Linked DNA regions of Homo sapiens: region 2 is linked to region 1. Evidence: promoter capture Hi-C in 16 types of primary human blood cells and fetal thymus (Javierre and others, 2016). All regions are on one chromosome and are shown on one strand. Each heading gives the region's core, a stretch centred on a gene start or on the middle of the fragment in contact. The rest is flanking DNA. Distances are from core to core; before and after follow the strand shown. Region 1 holds the start of CTRB1 (chymotrypsinogen B1). Region 2 overlaps LOC105371348 (a long non-coding RNA gene).

The links. The method cuts DNA at HindIII sites, captures the fragments that hold promoters and counts their contacts. A CHiCAGO score of 5 or more calls a contact.
Region 2: a contact is called between a fragment that was not itself captured here and the fragment with the promoter of CTRB1 in region 1, in 1 of 17 cell types (total B cells). The highest score is 5.5, in total B cells.

The regions. Positions count from the first base shown.
Region 1 is chr16:75,216,374-75,220,805 of GRCh38, forward strand. It overlaps CTRB1 (chymotrypsinogen B1), which reads left to right and starts at 2,615. Exons shown (of 7, transcript NM_001906.6): 1 at 2,615-2,686. The coding sequence starts at 2,635. RefSeq lists an enhancer at 2,153-2,232. The HindIII fragment of the contact is 15,887 bases long and covers 1-4,432 here.
Region 2 is chr16:75,768,187-75,772,618 of GRCh38, forward strand. The region is part of intron 2 of LOC105371348 (a long non-coding RNA gene); the gene reads left to right. Among named protein-coding and RNA genes, the nearest start is that of CPHXL, 44 kb to the left of the region's middle. The HindIII fragment of the contact is 1,805 bases long and covers 921-2,725 here.

The DNA.
Region 1 (4,432 bases), core at 1,365-3,864:
TAGTGCTGCTGTGAACACTGGTGTGCGAGTGTCTGCTTAAGTCCTTTTATTTAGGGGGAGTGGAATTGTCAGGTCATGAGGTAACTCTGTTTATTTTGTGGAATTGCCAAACTGTTTTCTTTGCACTTCTTTTTACTCTTTTTTTTGAGACAAGGCCTTGCTCCGCTGCCTAGGCTGGATCTCGGCTCACTGCAGCCTCGATCTCCCAGGCTCAAGTTATCCTCCTACTTCATCCTCTTGAGTAGCCGGGACTATGCCACCACGCCACCATGCCCAGCTAATGTTGTTTTTTTTAAATTTTTTTGTAGAGATGGGGTCTCACTTTGTTGCCCAGGCTGGTGTTGGACTCCTTGGCTTAAGTGATCCTCCCACCTTGGCCTCCCACAGTGCCAAGATTCCAGGCGTGAGCCACTGTGCCCAGCCATGCCGAACTGTTTGCATAGCAGCTTCACCATTTTACATTCCCAGCAGCAATGTATGAGGGTTCCAGTTTTTCCACATCCCACACTTGTTATTTTCTGTTTCTTTAAATTGTAGCTATCAGCCTGGTGTGCTGGCTCACGCCTGTAATCCCAGCACTTTCGGAGGCCGAGGTGGCTGGATCGCTTGAGGTCAGGAGTTGGAGATCATCCTGGCCAACATGGCAAAACCCCATCTCTACTAAAAATACAAAAATTAGCTGGGCATGGTGGCAGACGCCTGTAATCCCAGCTACTTGGGGGGACTGAGGCAGGAGAATCGCTTCAACCTGGGAGGCAAAGGTTGCAGTGAGCTGAGGTCACACCCCTGCACTCCAGCCTAGGCGACAGAGCAAGACTCTGTCTCAGGGGAAAAAGAAAAAAAAAGGGTAACATGGTGATGTGAACTTTTGAAATTTTCTCTTTAGTATATAAGTTTAGTTTTGCTTTATAGTTGTGCATTCTCCAGCAGCGGTGGGAGTGGGGAGGGGATATTCTAAATGCCAAGGTGACCTGGCCCGCTGACCACAGAGCCCAAGGCCTTCCATGGAAACACCATCCACCCACTGTGTCTTACTTTCATACCCTCATCGTCCGGAAATGCAGTACAGCCTGTCCTGTCCAGCCTTGCCCCAGGTGACTGTGGTCACTATATTACATGCTCATCTGTGTCGTGTGTGTCTGTCATGAGCGTCTCAGGCCCATAAGGGCAGGGATGCTGCGGGCTCTGTCCCCTGAATATCTGCCCACAGGGTGCTGAGGATCCCTTGGCCTTCACTTTCTGCCCAGTCACCGACCTGTCACCCACACCTGTCTTTCCTCCTTGTTTTGTGACAATGAAAAAAGTTTTTCTGCTTCCTCAAAATTTATTTTCAGACAGGCGCAGTGACTCACGCCTGTAATTTCAGCACTTTAGGAGGCCAAGGCCACAGGATCACCTGAGGCCGGGAGCTCAAGAGGAGCCTGGCCAACGTGGTAAAACCCTGTCTCTACTAAAAATACAACAATTGGCCAAGTGCGGTGGCTAACGCCTGTAATCCCAGCACTTTGGGAGGCCGAGGAAGGTGGATCACCCGAGATCAGGAGTTTGGGACCAGCCTGGCCAACATGGTGAAACCCCGTCTCTACTAAAAATATAAAAATTAGCCAGGTTTGGTGCTATGCCTGTAATCCCAGCTACTCAAGAGGCTGAGGTGGGAGAATTGCTTGAACCTGGGAGGTGGAGGCTGCAGTGAGCCAAGATTGTGCCACTGCACTCCAGCCTAGGCAGCAGAGCAAGACCCCATCTCAAAAAAAAAAAAAAATAGCTGGGTGTGGTGGGCACCTGTAATCCCAGCTACTTGGGAGGCTGAGGCAGGAGAATCAGTTGAACCCGGGAAGAGGAGGCTGCAGTGAGCTGAAATTGCGCCACTGCACTCCGGCCTGGGTGACAGAGTGAGACTCCATCTTAAAAAGTTTGTTTTCTGTGTCATTTTATGGTGCGGAATCCAAGTTCCATTTTGTAAGAAACTGAAACTTTATGAAATGATTAGTTCCTTATATCATGAGTCATTGCAGAAAAAGTGAATTCTGTTGGGTTCTACAGCACAGGTGGGACGCGTGTCAGTGGCTTTGCCCACCTGTTACGGCCACCAGCGGGTTGGTCCTTGTCACCCAGACCCTCGCCACAGTCAGAAGTGGCTTGGCTTCACTGGTGACTTGCAGTGACACTCTGGAGAATCCACGATGCCCTGAGTCACCCTTTGCTTCTAGGACAGTGTTAGGCGGAAACACCCTTCACTGAGAGCCTGAGTTCCCGGAGACCTGGTTCCATGACAGCAGCTGGTCCTCCACGAGCCCTGGGGTGGAACTGCCTCCACTTCCCCTCTGGGAACAGAAGAGCCTGGTGCCGTCTCCTGGCAGGGATACTGCAGCTCACAGCTGGCTCTGTGGGATCATGTCCCCAAGGCTGACCGGTGATGTCAGCGCAGCTGCCCCTTTCCCAGGGACTGGGGTTGTCTGGTAGAGAGCCAGGCGGGGCTCTGTCTCCACTTATTGCCCAAGGTCCCTGGGTAACAGGGAGGGTGGGCTCAGGCCTCCCTGGCTGGGGGAGCGGGGGGGGCTGGGCTCCCTGCCCCCCCAAGGTGGTAAAAGGGGCCCCGCAGCTGGCAGGCCCCACACCTTCTGAGGCAGCGGCATGGCTTCCCTCTGGCTCCTCTCCTGCTTCTCCCTTGTGGGGGCCGCCTTTGGTGAGTGCTGGTGCCCGAGGGGTCTGTCCTGAGGGAGCCCTGAGCCTGGCTGAGAGGGGGATCTGAGTCCCCTGCTCTGCCCCCTGGGGCCTCATCCCCAGCACAGGTAACCTGAGGGCTCAGGAGAGGGTGCATTCTGGGGCTTTCTGAGCCCACACAACCTGCTCCAGGAGTGGGAAGGACGATGCTGGTCTCTGCCATGGTCTGAGGCTCCAGAAGTGGCTGGGGTGGGGGTGCCTTGTGCAGGGTAAGGTGTGGCCCCAGGAGACCTCCCAAGGCCTCCACCGGGGTTTTTATTGTGCTGGGTACTTGTCAAGCATTTTCTTCCTTTCTTTCTTTTTTTTTTTTCGAGACAGAATTTCACTCCTATTGCCGAGGCTGGAGTGCAATGGTGCAATCTCCACTTACTGCAACCTCCATCTCCTGGGTTCAAATGATCTTCCTGCCTCAGCTTCCCGAGCAGCTGGGACTACAGGCATGGACCACCAACCCTGGCTAATTTTTAGTAGAGACGGGCTTTCACCACGTTGGCCAGGCTGGTCTTGAACTCCTGACCTCAGGTGATGCCCCCGCCTCGGCCTCCCAAAGTGCTGGGATTACAGGCATGAGCTACTGTGCCCAGCCGTGTTTTCTATTTTTTAAAAGAGAAATAGTAAAAGAAAATACAGAAAAGAATATGACATCCTTGTATCTACTGTCAGAATTCAGCAAATCTTTTTGCACATTTGCTTCAGATATTTCTAAAACAGATTGTACTCAGGCTTCCCTTTTCTCCCTCCTTCCCTCTCTGGAATGTGAGCTTGATTCTGAACTTTCTATGAATAATTGCAGTGTGAGCTTATACAATTGTACTACATATTTTTATACATCTATACATAAGGTTTCAAAAAGGTTACATCAATGGAACGGTATTCTATCCTGTTTTTGGTTTTGGTTTTGGTTTTGGTTTTGAGACAGGGTCTCACTCTGTCACCCAGGCTGGAGTGCAGTAGTGTGAGTTTGCAGCCTCAAACTCAAGGGCTCGAGTGATCCTCCCACTATAGCCTCCCGAGTAGCTGGCGCTACAGGCACGCTAAGTTTAAAAACTTGTTTTGTTTTGTAGAGATGGAGGTTTTTTTTGTTATTTTTTTTTCTTTTCTTTGAGACAGAGTTTCACTCTTGTCACCCAGGCTGGAGTGCAGTGGCGTGATCTTGGCTCACTGCAACCTCCGCCTCCTGGGTTCAAGCATTTCTCCTGCCTCAGCCTACTGAGTAGCTGGGATTACAGGCATGCATCACCACACCTGGCTAATTTTTGTATTTTTAATAGAGATGGGGTTTCACCATATTGGTCAGGCTGGTCTTGAACTCCTAACCTCCAGTGATCCGCCCACCTCAGCCTCCCAAAGTGATGGGATTACAGGCGTGAGCCCCCATGCCCGACCTGGGGTCTTATTATGTTGTCCAGGCTGGTCTCGAAATCCTGTGCTCGAGTGATCTGCTCACCTCAACCTCCCAGGGTGCTGGATTACAGGTGTGAGCCACTGTGCCTGGCTGATGTAACTAATACTCCATTCTACCTCCATTCTACAACAATGTGCTTTTTCCCTACTCAAATCTTCTCACTTCCTGCATGTTGACGTGGAGTTTCAGCTCATTCACCTGCATTTTTATAATGCGTGCTCTGTTGTGTGAGTATGCCACCATCTAGTTCTCTTATTTATTTATTTATTTTTTTAGATGGAGTTTCACACTTGTCGCCCTGGC
Region 2 (4,432 bases), core at 573-3,072, 550 kb after region 1:
GAGCTACCATGCCCAGCCTACCTGCCTTCTTTATGCTGTTATTTTTACAAATTAGATCTTTATTGCTTGTGTACCCATCAACATAGACTTATAATTACTGGTTTATGTAGTTGTCTTTTAAATCAGATAGAAGAAAAGAAAATAACTATAAACAAAAATCATTTATGCTGTCTTTTATATTTAACCATATAGTTAACATTTACCAGTACTCTTTATTTCTTCATTTGGGTTTGAATTACTGCCAAATAACTTTCATCTAGGCCTAAAAGAACTCCTTTAGTATTTCTTGCAGGACAGCTGTGCTAGCAATGAATTCTCTTGGTTTTTTAAAAAAAATCTGGAGATGTCTTAATTTCCCCTTCAATTTTGGAGTATAGTATTGCTCTATATAGACTCCTTGATTGACAGTCTTTTACTTTCACTGCTTTGAATATGTCATCCTATTGTCTTATGTTCTCTTTTCCTTGATTTCTAATGGGAAACAGCTATTAATATTACTGAGAAGCCATTGTATATGAATCATGTCTTACTTGCTGATACCAAGTTTTTTCATCTTCATTCTTTAAGAGGTTGATTATGTTGTATTGAGGTATGAATCTTTTTAGTTTATTACACTTGAAGTTCATGTGTGCAAACCAATATTTTTCAACAAATTTGGGAAGTTTACAAGCATTATTTCTTCAAATATTGGTTCTTGACATTTCTCTCCTCTCCTTCTGGGTCTCCCATTACATATATATTGGTACTTTCAGTAATTTCCCACAGGTCTCTGAAACTCTGTTCATTTTTCTTTGTTCTTTTTCTTTTCTGTTCCTCAGACTGGATAATTTCAATTGACCAATTTTGAAATTTGTTGATTTTTTATGTCTTTTCATATCTGTTACTGAGAACCTGTAGTGAATTTTTCTTTTCTGTTATTAAGCTTTTCAATTTTATAACTTTTATTTTAAAGTTGAATTTTATAATTTCCATCTCTTTATTGATGTTTTCTGTTTGGTTAGACATTGTTCTCATACTTCTTTAGGCACACTCTCCTTTTGGTCTTTGGGCATATTTAGACTAAATGATTTAAAGTCTTTTCTAGTAAGTCCAATATCTGGGCTTCCTTTAGGACAAATTCTATTGATTGTTTATTTTTATGTATGTGTGTTGGCAGTACTTTATTTCTTTGCATGACTTATAATTTTTTACATTATTGAAACCTGGACATTTTAATAGGTATTATGTGGCAAGTTTGGAAATCAGATTTTCCTACATGTCCATGGCTTGTTTTTATTGTTGCTTATTGGTTATTGTTACCTGTTTGCGTACTTACGTTTCTTTTTTTTTTGAGACAGAGTCTTGCTCTGTTGCCCAGGCTGGAGTGCGGTGGTGCGATCTTGGCTCACTGCAAGCTCCGCCTCCCGGGTTCACGCCATTCTCCTGCCTCAGCCTCCTGAGTAGCTGGGACTACAGGTGCCCACCACCATGCCCAGCTAATTTTTTTGTATTTTTAGTAGAGACAGGGTTTCACCATGTTAGCCAGGAAGGTCTCGATCTCATGACATTGTGATCCACCCACCTCGGCCTCCCAAAGTGCTGGGATTACAGGCATGAGCCACCGCGCCCGGCTCTTACTTACATTTCTAAGGCAATTCAGTAAAGTTTGTATTCTTTGTCATGTATGGGCATTGATGCCACTACTCAGTTAGCTTAGTGGTTAGCTAGTAATTAGACAGGTTTCCTTAGAGGTCTGGAATCAATAAATCTTTCATTTGCTGAAGGGCTCTCTGTGCATGTTGGGTCATGTCCTCAAAACTTAGGCAGCTTGTAACTCCATCTAAGCCTTTTCTTACTGCCTACATAGATCCTCAAGGTAAGCAGAGATGAGAGCTGAGGGCCTTTCCAGGTCTTCCCTGAGCTTGTGTACTATCCTGGGAGTACACATGGTCATTTAGATCCCTGAGATTTTGTCAGAGCCTTCTGATGTCCTTCTAGACATCTTATTTTCAAACTTCTATTTTATTTTCAAGGTTTTTGGTTAGTCCTTTGTTTGCCTCAGCTGTTGTTAATCTCCTCAGGCAGCCACAAAGTTAAAACACTTGCCTGTAATTGTCTCCAAAAATAACATCACCTGACAGAAATCCTCTGAAGTGAGTGAGCTCCAAGGCAGCCTCTTAATGAGTTTTTCAAGAGAACCACCAGACAAATAAGAAATGATAATATTGGCTGGGTGCAGTGGCTCATGCCTGTGGTCCCAGCACTTTGGGAGGCCAAGGCAGGTGGATCACGAGGTCAGGGGATCGAGACCATCCTGGCTAACATGGTGAAACCCTGTCTCTACTAAAGGTACAAAAAGCTGGCTGGGTGTGCTGGCAGGCATCTGTAGTCCCAGTTGCTCGGGAGGCTGAGGCAGGAGAATGGCGTGAACCTGGGAGGCAGACCTTGCAGTGAGCCAAGATCGTGCCACTGCACTCCAGCCTGGGCGACAGAGCAAGACTGTGTCTCAATAAAAAAAAAAAAGAGATAATATTTTGGGAATTATACTTTGAAAGAGCTTCATCTCTATTCTGGTCCCACTGATGACTGCTAGGCAGCACCAGCAATGCAGATGAGTATTTTTCAAGGCTTTTTCTGAGCTAGAGAGTGGGGGGTGGGACCAGGGAAAGTTAAAATGTCACAAAGCTAACTTTTCTTACAGCCATCCAGCCATTTTTCTTGAGTAAACTCTCCCCAGGTCATGGGAAGCTTTTAATTCTTTTTTTTTTTTAAATTTCTACATCCACTTCAGTCACACAAAATCTTTTGATTCATTTCTGGAGATCTGAAAAAGGTAATTCTGACCATTTAAATAATTTTTTCATTGCTTTTATGGAAGGGTGAATTTTTGAGGGTCCCTGCTCTGCCATTTTTGCTGATGTTACCACCATCAAGATTTTCTTCAGCAGGGGTCTGCAAATCTTTCCTAGAAAGGTACCAATTGTAAATGCTTTAGGTATTGTGCTTCAGATTGTGTTTGTCACAGCTACTCAACACTGCCATTGTAGTACAAAAATAGCCATTGTAAGTATATAAATAAATGGCTGTGTTTCAATAAAACATTATGTATAGAAAAGTCACAGACTGGATTTGGCCCAAGGATCATATTTTGCCAACCCCTCTTTTTAAAGATAAAAAACAACCTTAGAATCCTTCTCAGACCACACTGCTCTTTAGTCATCTTCTTTCTGTTCTCACAGAGGTTGTTTTTCTTCCAACTGAGATACACTAAGATGTTTAAACATTTAAGACATATTTAATTCTGCATTTTTACTATAATTCAGAAAATTTGTTTTTGTTGCTTTCAATTTTTATTTACATTTCCCCCCTGAATTTACATTATTACTGCAACCAGAGAACCAAATCAAAATAAATTGATTCATTATCCTCCAGAATATGGGTTATGTATTAGATTCCAAAGGAAGTAAAACAAGTTTAAAATATACAAAGTTTCAATTAACTTTATTTTTGTAGAGTGTAGAACACTGTCTTACTTACATAAACTATCCAGTGGTTAAAAAAAGGTGCTGATCAGGAAATGGAGAGTGAATGGGAGCATTAATGGGAATATGTAGAAAGAAATCTTACACTAAATAAAATATCCAATAGAAGCTTTGATTGGAGACCACAAGAGGCCATATATCTTTTGAGTCAAAGAGAAAACTCTTGGGGTTAAAAAGAATACAGTTAATTTCTATATCACTGATATATAGTAGATTACCAAAAAAGGTAATGCAGAGTGAAAAATAAATTCTAATAGAATCCCAGTGAACTGTAAGGTAGGAGGTATCTTATCTCTAGGTAGGTAGCTGCTTACCAGGTATATTTTGATGACTACTAAGAAGAGCCTGTAGATGTCCTTCTACTTCAGCTCTTCCTGTGATTTCATAAATACTTATTTCACAGGCCTTTTCCTGATGAGTAAAATAATGCAATATATGTGTAATTTTTTGCTGTCTATGATCATCTTCTTCCTGATTCCTAGTTTGATTTAGACTTCCAAGAAGTTAGAATGTACAAGACATTGGGTCCCAGTAGAAAGAAAATGACAGATGTAAGTAATGGTGAAAAAAAGGGAAGTAAAATGACATTAGAGGAAGATAATCCCATATCACAATTTTGCCTGTGGTCCTTCTAGTAGTTGAATTTCTTTGTCTCTTAGGTTTGCATTTGCTATCCTTGTCACTATCTTCTTCTCCTTCTCCTCCTCTTCTTCTTCCTCCTCCTCTTCTTCTTCTTCTGAAAGAAAGAAAGAAAGAAACATGGCTATATAGTGTTGGAGCAGCCCTTCCACTGAAAACAACTATAAAAGAAGGAAGAACTATGAGTTTTTGATGGGATAGCAGAGCTACCAAAGCAGTAAAGATTTGATGAAACAAATTCCCAGAAAGAAGGTAATCCTAGGATTTGAGCT